Regions from separate parts of the Homo sapiens genome. Here regions 1, 3, 4 and 5 are each linked to region 2. The links are contacts of gene promoters, found by promoter capture Hi-C in blood cells and fetal thymus (Javierre and others, 2016). All regions are on one chromosome and are shown on one strand. The core of a region is centred on a gene start or on the middle of the fragment in contact, and the rest is flanking DNA. Distances in the headings are between cores, read along the strand shown. Region 1 overlaps VSIG4 (V-set and immunoglobulin domain containing 4). Region 2 holds the start of LAS1L (LAS1 like ribosome biogenesis factor). Region 3 holds the start of ZC3H12B (zinc finger CCCH-type containing 12B). Region 4 has its middle 29 kb from the start of MIR223HG. Region 5 has its middle 11 kb from the start of MIR223HG.

Region 1 (2,700 bases), core at 108-2,607, 490 kb before region 2:
AGTCAGAGTGAGGTTAAGGGGAGTGATAAATGTGCCCTTTATTTAGTTCTCTGTTGTCATAGTAATATGCTTTCCAAACATTCTGAGCAAGAATATGGATAGGGACATTATGACATCATGACCTCAACCAGGTAAGGATAATGGCTGAGTGTCATTGCTTGAGCTCTTAACCAGGGCTCTTCAAGCCGCTTGAAGCTGATTTCTGATTCCTCCAAAGCCTTGAAAATTCCCAAGTCAGGGTCTCAGAGATTCAAATCCCAAATAAATCTTTTGTGTTTCACCTGCATCTGATAGTCAGTTGGTATGCCTTCACATGACTACATTGACTGTTGAAATAATAGAACACTCTCACACCAATTGATAATTAGCTGCTCCCCTTAACCCCTGAGCCCTCCATTATTACCTGGGGCTGCCTTGTCCCATTCCTCAGAACTCTCTAGACCACCCCCATGGTCATGCAACAAAAGGTATACCAAGGAATCTCTAAGACTCCAAGTCTACAGTAGGCATCTGTTGTGACTGGTTGGAATTAAATAGTTTGATAACTATCACTCCTGGTACTCATTCTCTGCCTGTGTATAATTGAGAGAGTGGACTTCCAAATGCTCTTTGTAACTCTCCATTCCTGATTGCAGAGTTTTTTGGCTATCCCTTGGCAGCACTCAAACCTGTTTTATGTTCCACATTTGCATTGCCATCTTTGGCTTCAAGATTTCCATAGCTCCGTTCCTCTCCGAGAAGAACATCTACTGGGAGAAGAGAAGTTAGAAATTGCCTCATAGGGAGTTGGTTTGGAAAAATGAGAAAATAACCTTGGGCAAAGTTATTAGATGTTGGGTCTGCGCCCTATTTTCTCTACCAAGTTTTTTAGTACTTGACTCTCTTCAAAAGAGAATATTTCTTCGATTTGTACCAGCTTATAACTTGAGCTCTCTCAGTCCCAACAAGACACTCTGAGGACCACAAATACTGGATTCCTAGGACACGATATCTTAGAGTCTCATGAAAACAAGCCAGTTGCAGCAACAAATCCTAAGTACACTGAGGTTCCTTTCCTCACGCCTCTCTATCCCCCCTGACCTAGCATCTTAGATTCAGAATATTATAGCTAAAAGTGCTTTAGACATCATCCAATCTTTTCATTGAACTTATGGGGTAACTAAGGCCTAGTGACAGTCAAAGTTTTGTCTAAGGTCACTGTATTCATTTTTCCATGGCTGCTGTAAAAACTTACCCCAAACCTAGTATCTTAAAACAGCATAAATATATTATCTTCCACTTCTGGAAATAAGTCTGACACAATTATCACTGAGCTAAAATCAAAATGTCAGTCAGCAAGGCTATGTTCCCTTTGGAGGGTTTGGAGAAGAATTAATTTCCTTGTCTTTCTTTTCTGGCTTCTAGAAGCTACCCACGTTCTTTGGCTCATGGCCCCCTTCCTCCATTTTCAAAACTAACAATGTAGCATTCTCAAATCTCTGTTCCTTTTTACTATGTAAACTAACATACTGACAGGTTCCAGGAATTTGGATGTGAATATCTTTAGAGGACCATTATTCTGCCTACCATAGTCATACAGAAAGTAAATAACAGATCTAGGACTGGAAGCCAAGTCCAGTTGATTCTTTCAGCTTTTAGGCATAATGGGAATATGTGTCTCAAGTGGCTCAGTGGAAATATGTTTTGAGAAAGAAGGAAGCTGGGGACTTGACCAGAGCGTGTGATGGGAAGAATCTTTGTGGCTAGAAGTAACTGACCAGAATCTTAATAAGGTATGTAGCATTTTTGGTGAAGCTGGAAAGTCAGGATATTATTTTCTTTTTTCTAAGGGAAGGTGAAAACCTTCTGTCTTGGCCCTATAGAAAGCATAGACAACTAGCTCAAATGCCCAGGCCAATCAGCCCACCAGTGAGTCTGGAAGAACCTGTTTACACATGGCATCTCTTTCTCAAGTCTTTCTCATGGGACTGGAGTTTTTTCTCTCTGGCTAGCTAAGAAGGTTAGGAGAATATGGAAAATGAAAAAGAAAAAGGCCTGGCTTAGTCTAGGCTGTTTCTTAGAGTTTTTGTTTCTGGCCTTATTTTCAATCAAATACCACTTGATCTTGTTTTACCCTCTAGGAAAGAGCCTGCCTGTCTTTGCCATCATCCTCATCATCTCCTTGTGCTGTATGGTGGTTTTTACCATGGCCTATATCATGCTCTGTCGGAAGACATCCCAACAAGGTTAGTGATGAATATGAGAAGGTGGCTTTGGCTCATTTGTTCTTTCTGTCAGTATACTTGAGCCTAAATTCTGTATCAGGCATTGTGTTAGGCACTTCAAGAAGCTCCCAGCCTAGTTTGGGAGTTAAGGTTGGGGTGCAGGGAGGCAGATGTTCGAGCAAACAATGGCATAAGACTTACAGAACTAAATGCACTAGGCTTTGGTACTCAGTGAAGTACAGCCATCTTTCTAACGAGTCATCTTGTAATGATGCAAGAGAAGGAGAAGTCACAATCCCTGGCCTCAAGTTGCTCACAATTTATTTAGGAGATTCAAGGTAGAAACATGGAATTTATCAATGACAATACATAGCAATAGAGGCTATGAGCTCAAAAACTAGAGAAGACAATTAATGCTAAAGGGATCCAGAGGAGAAGAGAGTAATTTAAGGCTTGGGTAATTAGCAAGGGATTTCAGAAGGAAGAATATCTTAGA
Region 2 (2,700 bases), core at 73-2,572:
TAACTATAGGCAGACTATATCTTAGGAAAAGTTGGCTGGAGAAAGAAGCACATATAGAGGATGAATTGGGATTTGTTGCTGTGAAGCGTAAAAGTGCCACTCACAGCAATGCTGTTAAGATCGTTAGCAACAGTTCTCTCTCTCTCTCTCTCAAGTGTTACATTGGAAAATAACTTCTGCAAGAAGGATTGGGACATAGTCCTAAACATATTTCAGTCAACTCGTAAAATCGGAGGAACTTCATAATACCGCTTTTCTCCCAGAACTCCAAAATACCAAGGAATTTTGCAGAAAAACTAAGTATACCTTGGTGGATGTTGAAACCAACATAGCAGTGGAATGTTGGCAGAGTAAAATTCTACAATTTTCTGCTATGACAGAGAACCTAGAGACCAGTCTACAACTCTCACTGTACAGATGGGAAAACTGAGACTAGTCTAAGTCCACATAGTTAGTGGCAAAATTTAGAGTAAAACTCAGGTCTCTAGGCTGGTATTTATTTATTTATTTATGTATGTATTTATTTAATTTACTTTTGAGACAGAGTCTCGATCTGTCACCCAGGGTGGAGTGCACTGGTGCGATCTTGGCTTGTTGCAGCCTCCGCCTCCCGGATTCAAGCGATTCTTGTGCCTCAGCCTCCTGAGTAACTGGGATTACAGGCATGTGCAACCATGCTTAGCTAATTTTTGTATTTTTACTAGAGACCGGGTTTCACCATTTTGGCCAGGCTGGTCTGGAACTCCTGACCTCAAGTGATCCGCCCGCCTGGGCCTCCCAATGTGCTGGGATTACAGGCGTGAGCCACCACGCCTGGCCAGGCTGGTACTAATTTAAAAGGCAGGGCCCCTGGTTACCTGCCACAAAAGCAGATTTTTTCAACCCAACTGTAACTGTTTCGATATGAGATATTTCCTCTGTAGCCCTGCTTCAGTGTCCAGTGTTTTACTAGGTTAGGTCCTGATTCACGGCAATAAAAATATACTTAAAATCGCATTTTCAGTTCACTGGATGACTACAATCAAGCTGCCACCCGCCGAGGGGAGCAAAATAAAATTCCTCTTGCAGTGAAGACATACCGCTTCCGGTCTGGTACAGAAGCCGGTTAGCAACCAGGAAATTGGCGGAACCTAGAGGCTGAACTCTTGCCCCTGGAGGGTTTGCTTTGTGAAAAGAACACTTCCGGCCGGTGAGTTTTTAACCCCGCATGTCATTAGGTCGGCGCCCAATTCTGACGTTCCGATTGGCCATGCTGACGCTGGAAGGCGGGCTTGCGTATGGGGTCACGCTCTCCTATTGGCTGCTGGTGCGGTGGCGGTTCGGAGTGAGGGTAGCACGCTGAGCTGAAGGCTGTGCGGAGCGGCGCGGCACAGAGCCTGTTGTTGAGCTCAGTATGTCGTGGGAATCCGGGGCCGGGCCAGGTCTAGGTTCCCAGGGGATGGATCTCGTGTGGAGTGCGTGGTACGGAAAGTGCGTTAAAGGGAAAGGGTCGTTGCCACTCTCGGCCCACGGCATCGTGGTCGCCTGGCTCAGCAGGGCCGAGTGGGACCAGGTGACGGTTTATCTGTTCTGTGACGACCATAAGTTGCAGCGGTACGCGCTTAACCGCATCACGGTGTGGAGGAGCAGGTAAGGTGGCGGGTTCGGCCCTTTTGCCTGCGTGCTGGTGGCGCTGCACCTCTTCCTTTGTCGAGTTTCTATAAGGCCCTGTTCTCCAGTCTTCCCCTAAGTCGCCTAAAGTTGTCCCTCTCCCAAATGCCTGGGGGAACGCGGCAGCCATCTCTTGCGCTAATCCCGTTAGCGGAATGGAAAGTAAGGGGTTGTGCCTCAACAATTCTCTTGTTATATCTGTGAGGTTTACCCATTACCTCCAAAAAGTGACTTTCTCCCAACTTGGAGAGGATGCCGGAGGGACTAGTGAGGCCTGAGCCAGGGCTTAAGGAGTAGATTAGTACCCTAGGGTAGATTTCCGATTCCAATGGGGAGGAAGTCTTGCCTGCAAGACAGTGTTTGAGTGGGGCGCCTCAGTCCAGTTGGTAAGATTGAGTTGGGAGCCGACTTACAAGGGATAAGGGGCTCCTCTAGCTCAATGAGTTGATTTGGGGGTGAAAGAAAGGGGTGTGTCCACACAACTGTTGATGGACAGTCTACCAGTTAGGTGTCCTGTATACGGCCTAGTCAGCTCCTCATGCCCTGTATACTGTTGGATCCCACAGACATTACCGTGTCTCCTCCCACCTTCTTGTTTTGTGTCTGTTCATGCTCTCTTGAACCAGAATATGATGGGTGTAGCCTGCAACAACCTAGGTTCTGAGGTGGAGGGTGGACCAGTGTAAGGGCTCTTTATGATGGTGCTGGACTGTGACCCTTTAGGTCAGGCAACGAACTCCCTCTGGCAGTGGCTTCTACTGCTGACCTGATACGCTGTAAGCTCTTGGATGTAACTGGTGGCTTGGGCACTGATGAACTTAGACTGCTCTATGGCATGGCATTGGTCAGGTAAGACCTGCATGGGGTAGGGGTGGAGGTTGGCTTTGGGGACTGGAGGCAGGGGAGGCATGTGATAAGCAAAACTTGGCTTCAGGTGTTACCTGAAGCAAAACCCTGCGTGTACCTCACTGTGGATCAGCCTGTGATTATTGCTTGACTTATCAGCTTTTGGTACCCTCGTCAACGCATTCCTCTTTTTCTTCCTTTTTC
Region 3 (2,700 bases), core at 113-2,612, 500 kb after region 2:
AAAGATAATGTTGCTAATTTTCAAAAAAGCACCTCACAACTTTAGAACCTCATCTAATCACCTTGTCCAGAATATCACTTCCGGTGCCTCATGCCAATGTTTTCTGGAACCGACTATCTTCAACTGCAGGCTACCTCAGGAAGAACAGATATATCACAACCCATCCTCGCTTTTATTGGGGATATTTTAGGTTTCATCATCGTATTTATAATAAAAAAGAAGTATGCCATTCTGGATGAAAAGTAGTTTGTAAAACCAGTTTCCCCTATTATGAATCAGCCATTCTGCCTACTTCTCAAGTTTGATAGCACTTTAGAAGTCAAATGGAGTGTGTGTTTGTTTTATTATTTTTATTATTTAATATAAGTACTATCTTCCTAACGTACATGTCAGGAGTCAGAAGCCAGGCACAAGGCTTTCGGGAGGTCTTAGCACACGAGTAGCAACAACACTGAAAAGTAAGGGGCCACTCCAGCTATGTGTTCAAACCTTGAGGCATGGAGCGACAGCAGCCCGGGGAATGGGCTCCTGAGAAGCCCGCGGTCAGGCTGAGCCTCCTGAGAGAGCGAGAGCCAGAGCCAGAGCGAGGGGAAAGGGGCGAGCACGGCACTGGGAGAGTCTGTCCACGAATCAGGAATCAGGCTGCGTGACTGTACGTAGAATTATCAGCATCTATGGCATCTAAGAAGCAAAGCCAGGCCTTAAGCACCCACCCCGCATTCCTGGACGCCAGGGTTGAGACCAAAAAGTGGTGGCTATGAGAAGGAAAACTACCTCGAAGGGAATAGAGAGCCGCGAGCAGATGTGGGAGAGGCGTCAGAAGCTTCTGCAGGAGAAAGCAGCGATTCGCTCGCCTCCTGGGGCCACGGAGGCCGGAAAGGCGCACTAGAACCGAGCGAGTGCGGTGCCACTACTCACCCCTACTCTCCTATGGTCCCCGTCGTCGCCCTGCTCGACGCAGCCCCTGCAGGGGGGAGCCCCTCCCCCGCCCGCCGCAGGGGGTGGGCTCGGCGGGCGAGAGAAGGCGGCGGCGCAGGTGTCCAACAGCCGGGGCCAGAGAGGAGCTGGGTGCAAGGGAGACAGCTTGGTGCCTTGCGCTCCGTGGCGCCGCCAACTTCACCACCATCGACGTGGAGGGACGAGGGGAGGCGATGGGGGGAAGGCGCTCGCCCAGCGGCCCGGACCCTCCTGGGGTACTAGGCCTGAGCCTCTGGAGGGACCGCCGTTACCAGTCCCCTCAGCGATGCGACCCCCAGGCCTGATTCCAGTCCCTGGGCCCCCCTGGCCACAGAGCAGCGGCGGCTCCCTCTTGGGGCCGCGGTCGCAGCTGCATCCTCCTGCTCCTCCTCCTCTGGCGCCTCTGCCTACACACACAGCCCCGGCGCGGTTATCGCCGCGGCGCCCGGCCGCCGTTGCCTAGCAACTGTGCGCATGCGCCCCACCCCTGTCGGCGACTGCTGCCACCGCTGGCGCCGCTGTCGGAGCTCAGACCAGCAGGCCTACGACCTAGAAAGTGCTCAAAACCCCACTTCCTAAGGCCTAGAAGGAGCGACGTGAAGGTAAGCGTGGGTGAGGAGAGGTCCAGGATGCTCTGCAATTCGATAGGCCCGAGGACTTGGGATACGACCGTCTCCCAGCCCCTCGACAGGCACCTCTGCGGTTAAGAGTGACAGTCCCAACAACCTCACTACTTGTCTCACTGCCTTTTATTTGTCTTTTATTTGTTTTTATTTTATTTGCCTACGTATTTGTCTTGGCTCCTCCAATTCATCCTTCACAAGGGCTGCCAGGGTAATTTTCTAAATAACTTCTCTGACTATGTCACTCGTCTGCATAACTCAGGTGGTTAAGGGTCACCTCCCTTAATAGGGCCTAACAATTCTTGACTACTGCAACAGCATACTCTCTGGTTTCTTTGCCTTTAGACTTGTCTTTCTGCAATTTGTTCTCATACTTCTACCAGTGATCAAATGAAAATCTAATCTCACTTCCTTCTGGCTTAGAGAATGGGCTTTGAAATTACAGCCAAGTTTGAATTTCTGCTCCACCACCAAGTAGCTCTGTTTCCTTGAACTAGGAATTTTTTTTTTTTTTTTTTTTTGACAAAGTCTTACTCTGTCGCCCAGGCTGGAGTGCAGTGGCGCCATCTCAGCTAACTGCAATCTCTTACTTCTGGGTTCAAGAAATTCTCCTGCTTCAGCCTCCCAAGTAGCTGGGACTACAGGTGCAAGCCACCATGCCTGGCTAATTTTTGTATTTTTAGTAGAGACGGGGTTTCACCATGTTGGCCAGGCTGGTCTTGAACTCCTGACCTCAAGTGATCCGCCCGCCTCCGCCTCCCGAAGAGCTGGGATTACAGGCGTAAGCCACCGTGCCCGGCCTGAGCTAAGATTCTTAACCTGTCTAAATCTGTTTCCTTATCAGTAAAATGGGGATAATTATAATACCTATAGAGTAGTTATGAGGATTAAATGGAAAAGTGAATGTAAAGCACTTAACATACATAACTTACTGTGGCTCAGAGTAAGCGCTTAGTAAAAATTGGAGTTATTTTTCAATAGATTCATTATCTATAATAAAGGAGAAAATACAGATTCCCTAGCTTAACATTCAAAGTCCTCTAAGATCTTGCCTCTATTTTTCTAGCCCTAGCTCCTTCCACACCCCCTTAGGCACCCAGCCACAGACCAGTTTTTACCT
Region 4 (2,700 bases), core at 90-2,589, 450 kb before region 2:
CCTTATACATGTGAGGAAGTAAAGTTAGGAGGCTGATAATTATTAATACATGCACCCAAATAAGATGTGGGGAAAGAAGGAGCACTATTTGGAAGTATTATGAGAATACCTGTGTGATTTGAGGCCAATGTATTGTGACCTGCATGTTTTTCATGGAACAGCAACCATCCCTGAAAATATTCTGGAGGTCAGTGGATAAATATACTTTGATAAACAAACATTTGCTTCCTACCCAATCTCTAGGCCTGTAAGTAAAGAGGAAGGCAGAGCAAACAGGACATAGTCTGCATGTTGATTTGTTTGAGGCTGGTCCAGATGTCTGGAATCTATCCCATTATTTTTCAGTTAATTTCTCCACCTTTCTCCCCCTCCTCATTTTTATCATCCGAAGGCCTAGAAGGCAGGAGACCAGGGTTTCATTCCCATTTGGTCTTGGACTCATATTATACCCCTGGACAGGCTTAAAAATAGTTTATTTTGTTATTTTTTGGCCTGCTTGACAAATAAACTAAACAACTTAGTATGTGGGGGTATGGTAATAGCCTAGAAAATGTATTTACTTATAAGCTTCAGAAATTGTGTAAAAAGAGAGAATGAGGCTAAAGTCCAGAATACTCTGCCTGGCACACAAAGGCTGCCACAATCTGGCTCCAGGCCCCACTCCCCCAACTCCTTCATCCCCTTACTCTTTATCTGAAAATGTCTTATTATTTCCCCATACCTATACCTTAGTGCTGACTGGTTCCTTGTCCTGAAATAATCTTCCCTTCTCCCTCTTCTATAACAGGTAAATTACCCTATATCCTTGATGATCCAGCACATCCAACATGACTCTATCAACAATATAATCACATTGGGTTATAATTATTTTTGTCTCTCTGTCATAAGAGACTGGGAGTTCCCTCAAAGACAGTATCTATTTATTTCTATGTCTTAACACTATTCCTACCACAGAATTGTCAACTGGCATTTATGGAAGGGAGGGTGAATGAAAAGGGAGAGATGGAATGAGGGAGAACAGAAAGGAAGAAGGGAGGAAAGTGAATTGGATAAAAACCAGAATTCCAAGTTCAGATATATGGTTTGAATTCTAATCCAGTCACTTTGTAGTTAAGATGCTTTGTAGCTGAATGTGTAGAGCAAATTAACTTCACATTTCTAAGCCTCAGTTTCCTTATCTGTAACACTGGGCTAATTCTCTCTAGGCCTGTCTGCTTCACTCACTCCACTGCATGGAATAAGGGAGGGAGAAATAAGAGAAGGTAGAGATGAAAGAGAAAACAAAGAGACAGAAAAGAAAACTGCAATCTCTGAGAAAGGGAAAAGTTTAAGGTTGGGGTAAGTGTACCTCCGGTTGTAGGAAACAAAAACCACTAGAGGGCAATGTTAACGCAGGGAAATTTTCCCTAGTAACAAAGGGAACAACCCACAACTGGATGGGCCAGGTCACACAGGAGCCAGTCCTGATGGAGCTCAGTCAGAACTGTGAATCCCCTGTTAGGTTTGGTATGTCGCACCCCAGATGACTGACATATATAAGAGCCACAGCTGCCTAGTATTCACAAATGGTAAGAGTGAGTCATTATTTGTTAGAATAAGGCTGCTTGAGATTGTTAGCGTCTATCACTAAGTTACAATGTGTTTGAGTTCTCATAAACATGCTGGAATGCCACACTTCTTCCTCCTCACAGCAGGGTCTAGAGTCTGTCTTCTTGCCTGTCAGGCTGTCTTGCATCACTACACAAACTCTAAGACCCTCCCGGGCACCATGTTTTTACTCCTTTCCATCAAGCACACATTGGATTACAGTGTTTACCTGCTCAGAAGCCACCTGGTGCTCTTCATTGCCTCCTAAAGAAAATTCAAAACTTTCAGCCTGGTTCTAAAGGTTTATTATAATCTGGTACCAACAAACTTTACCAGTGTCCCTCTTTGCCCTTTCATCAACCTCCGTGGAGCAGCCAGGCTGGACTGTTCCCTAGTCTCTGAACATATCCTCTGCATAGTTCTATTGACTTGACTTGGCTCCGTCCATTGGAATCTTCCATGAGATGAAACCTTAATTATCTTTAATGACATTGTCACACAACATTATTCCCATAGAAGCTTTCCTAATTCTACTAGTCACAAATTATCAGATGCTTGAGACTCGTCTGTGCTTTATCTATGCCTTTCACTTATGGCATTGATCACATTCTACCTTATGTTAGATTTGTTTAATTTATTTACTTATTTATTCTTTTGCTTAACATATATTGGTTGTATATTTTATATCAGTTCCCATGTGAAGGACTCATAAAAGATTAAGGCTTAATTCTGGCTCTCCAGGATCTAAGTGTCAAACTAGAGAATGACAGATATATAACACCACATTAGTTTTGCGCATGTTACGTGATAACAAAGGCACATCAAAGGATTGAGGAAGCTAGATTGGAGCCATACTGGAATGCCAAAAAAAAAAGAGATAGATAAGAAGACAGAGAGTGTATCTTCAGATAACTGCTCTATCAAATACTTAGCATGTCAATAAGTATTGACTCTATCCAGTAGAAAATGCGGCATTATAAGGGAGTTTTTAATTGGAGAGTGGGCCAAGGATTTGTGAATTGGGCCAAGGATTCCAGAGGAGATAAGAGGGGCAATTACAATACATGTCTATTTTCCCTACTAAATGTGAAGTTGCTTGGGAGCAAGAATTTT
Region 5 (2,700 bases), core at 73-2,572, 470 kb before region 2:
AATTTAAAAAAAAAATCTTTCTAGTGACCACCACATCATTCTTCAGATCACTCTAAAAAGTAGGTTCCATAGATTACCTCACTGTTTAACCTCCTAATCTACCATAATTTAGCTTTTTGTCTTTATTCTCATTTCTGCACTAACCTTGGTAACTGTTGTCACAAAATTACCATGAACTCTTAATCAACAAAACCAAAAGCCTCTCTACTAGCCCTCACTCCCTTCAATGTCTCTGCAACAGGTGACTGTCAGCCATTTCTTCTTTCCTAAAACCTGTCATCAAATGGTTTAGAGAATACCCTCCCTCTCCAGACTGAATTTGATCACCAGAACCACAGAAGTATGGTTCAGATGAGATGTAAAGATCAAATTCATGCCAGAGGATCATAGCCAATTGCAGAGACTGTCTTCTCCATTTGTGTCCCTGATACCTAGCAGAACACCTGATCCCAATAGTGCTCAGTGAGAATTGTTGAATTTACCTATACTCCTCTGATTCACCTATCTTCCTAACCATTCTCTTTGGTTCTCTTAACGACGTCTCTTTCTTTCCTGTTCTTTATTAAATGTGTTTCCAAATACTCTGTACTTTTGTCTTTTTGTTGTGTCTCTGCACACTTCCTTACTCTCTTTCTATCTTCCCTACCTCCAGATCAGTAGATTCAATCTAATATTGAACATATCTCCCTGAATGTCTAAGTCCTCATGCCCTAGACCCTACACCTCAAACAAACTTGGTCATAATACTGTGTTTCTTATCTCCATGGAGAAAATCCAAGTTAGAAATATCAATCATCGTTGATCATCATTATATATTTTTACTAATATTCTGATTATAACACTTATGACCTTAAAGTGTGATATTTTTTGTCCATGCCTTTTTCTCATGAGTAGCCTGTAGTTCCCTCAAGAAAAAGTATCTCTGTTTAAATTGATTTCTGTATCACCAGTGTTTGGCACATAGTAAGGGGCCTTAGTGTTAGCAATTGTTAGCTAAATTAATAAAGGGTGATGAGGTCAGCTCCCAGAGTGCTTGTATTTGAGGAAGAGAATGATTTTGTTCCTAATGATGAAGAAGAATATAGAAAAAAAAAGATGAAAATGATGTTCATTTTCATCCAGGAATGTTTTTATCCTTAAAGTTTGATATTTATTGCCAGGATGATCTTTTAATAACACAACTCTAGTGGTGTTATTGCACTGCTCAGAAAAGATGAGTGGCTCTTCATTGTTTTAAGCTTAAAGTTCAAAATTTGTCAGCTAAGTGATCAGGATCTTTCACAATCTGTACACAGCCTATGTCTTCACTGTTCTCTTCCCATCCTATATTCTGACTACTGCATGCCCTATATTCTAGTATACCTCCAGCCTTTACACATGCCTCTCTGTGGACCTGGAAAGCTTCCTATTCCCTTCACATCTATTCTGTCAGGAGACCTTGTGTTTCTTCTTCAGACCCAGCTCAATTGTCATCTCCTCTGGGAAACCTCTTTTAATTGTCCTAGACAAATTCTTCTGTGCGTTGTATGCACCTAAATTACAGCCTGATTACATTGTATTTAGAATACCTGTTTACATAGTTACAAAGTGTGCTCTACCAGGCACTGGCTTTAACTTAATAATTTTTGGATTCCCAGATCCTAGGTTAAGTTCTAACATGAAGTAGCTTTTCTGTAAATGTTGGTTAAATCTGACTAAAATGCCTGCTGAAATAAATATTAATATTTGTGCTATATAATCTGACTCCATCTTGACTTATGGATACTTTCCACACATGTTAAGTCCACAACTCCAATTCTGCCCGAGTTAAAATCTCTTCAGATGGCAGGGGTGAGTCATTTCTTAGGCTCCATACCTAGAACACAGTAGGCTTTTAGTGAACCATTTGAAATCAAGATGTGTTTGGAGGTGAACATAGGCCAGCACAGCAATCGGGTTGATGAGTAATGTCTTCTTTTTTTTTTTTTTTTTTTGAGGTGGAGTCTTGCTCTGTTGCCCAGGCTGGAGTGCCATGGTGCAATCTCAGCTAACTGCAACCTCTGTCTCCTGGGTTCAAGCAATTCTCCTGCCTCAGCCTCCCCAGTAGCTGGGATTACAGATGTGTGCCACCATGCCGGCTAATTTCTGTATTTTTAGTACAGACGGGATTTCACCATGTTGGCCACGCTGGTCTCGAACTCCTGACCTCATGATCTGCCCACCTCGGCCTCCCAAAGTGCTAGGATTACAGGTGTTAGCCACCCCGCCCAGCCAGTAATGTCTTCTAAACCTCTGTTTTCTTCCTATGGACATAATGAGACAAAATTTGAATAGAGAAAAACACAATTGCAACCAGGGTTGCATTCCTGTCACCTTAGGTAAGGAAGAAGAGGAAATGAAAATCAGAGAGGCGACAAAGCTGCGTGGGCTGGAGGGAGGAAATCTGTTGTAAATATCAAAAAGCGAAGCTGAAAATAAACCTCAGCCCTTTAGAGAATTACTAGTGAAGTTAAGTTCAATTGATTTAAAGATTGCTTTTCAGAGAGTTCATAAAACTCATGATCCTGAATTGAGGGTTGTTTGGGAAAAACCCCAAACCATTTTTTTCCTCTGCTTTCACATCAACACAACAATCAACATGGAAGATTTCTGCAGCCAAATGTGTGGGATAGTTTCCCCCACACACAAAGCAGCAGACACCAGCTGAGTGTCCTCTAATTC

What was found. Contacts are between HindIII fragments. The CHiCAGO score rates a contact against its expected background, and 5 or more counts as called.
Region 1: a fragment that was not itself captured here is called in contact with the fragment with the promoter of LAS1L in region 2 in 1 of 17 cell types (activated CD4 T cells); the score reaches 7.1 in activated CD4 T cells.
Region 3: a contact is called between the fragment with the promoter of ZC3H12B here and the fragment with the promoter of LAS1L in region 2, in 2 of 17 cell types (total CD4 T cells and non-activated CD4 T cells). The highest score is 6.4, in total CD4 T cells.
Region 4: a fragment that was not itself captured here is called in contact with the fragment with the promoter of LAS1L in region 2 in 6 of 17 cell types (total CD4 T cells, M1 macrophages, total CD8 T cells and 3 more); the score reaches 6.1 in total CD4 T cells.
Region 5: a contact is called between a fragment that was not itself captured here and the fragment with the promoter of LAS1L in region 2, in 2 of 17 cell types (naive CD8 T cells and total CD4 T cells). The highest score is 6.5, in naive CD8 T cells.

Annotation. Positions count from the first base shown.
Region 1 is chrX:66,024,550-66,027,249 of GRCh38, reverse strand. It overlaps VSIG4 (V-set and immunoglobulin domain containing 4), which reads left to right. Exons shown (of 8, transcript NM_007268.3): 6 at 2,121-2,225. Among named protein-coding and RNA genes, the nearest start is that of MIR223, 7.0 kb to the right of the region's middle. The HindIII fragment of the contact is 3,017 bases long and covers 1-2,700 here.
Region 2 is chrX:65,533,409-65,536,108 of GRCh38, reverse strand. LAS1L (LAS1 like ribosome biogenesis factor) reads left to right here and starts at 1,322. Exons shown (of 14, transcript NM_031206.7): 1 at 1,322-1,629; 2 at 2,374-2,499. The coding sequence starts at 1,394. RefSeq lists an enhancer at 1,048-1,227. The HindIII fragment of the contact is 19,270 bases long and covers 1-2,700 here.
Region 3 is chrX:65,033,488-65,036,187 of GRCh38, reverse strand. ZC3H12B (zinc finger CCCH-type containing 12B) reads right to left here and starts at 1,362. Exons shown (of 10, transcript NM_001010888.4): 1 at 919-1,362. It also overlaps a transcript of ZC4H2 not described here. RefSeq lists an enhancer at 735-794 and silencers at 895-1,124, 1,185-1,334. The HindIII fragment of the contact is 4,649 bases long and covers 826-2,700 here.
Region 4 is chrX:65,985,118-65,987,817 of GRCh38, reverse strand. No RefSeq gene overlaps it. Among named protein-coding and RNA genes, the nearest start is that of MIR223HG, 29 kb to the left of the region's middle. The HindIII fragment of the contact is 1,539 bases long and covers 570-2,108 here.
Region 5 is chrX:66,002,669-66,005,368 of GRCh38, reverse strand. No RefSeq gene overlaps it. Among named protein-coding and RNA genes, the nearest start is that of MIR223HG, 11 kb to the left of the region's middle. The HindIII fragment of the contact is 163 bases long and covers 1,241-1,403 here.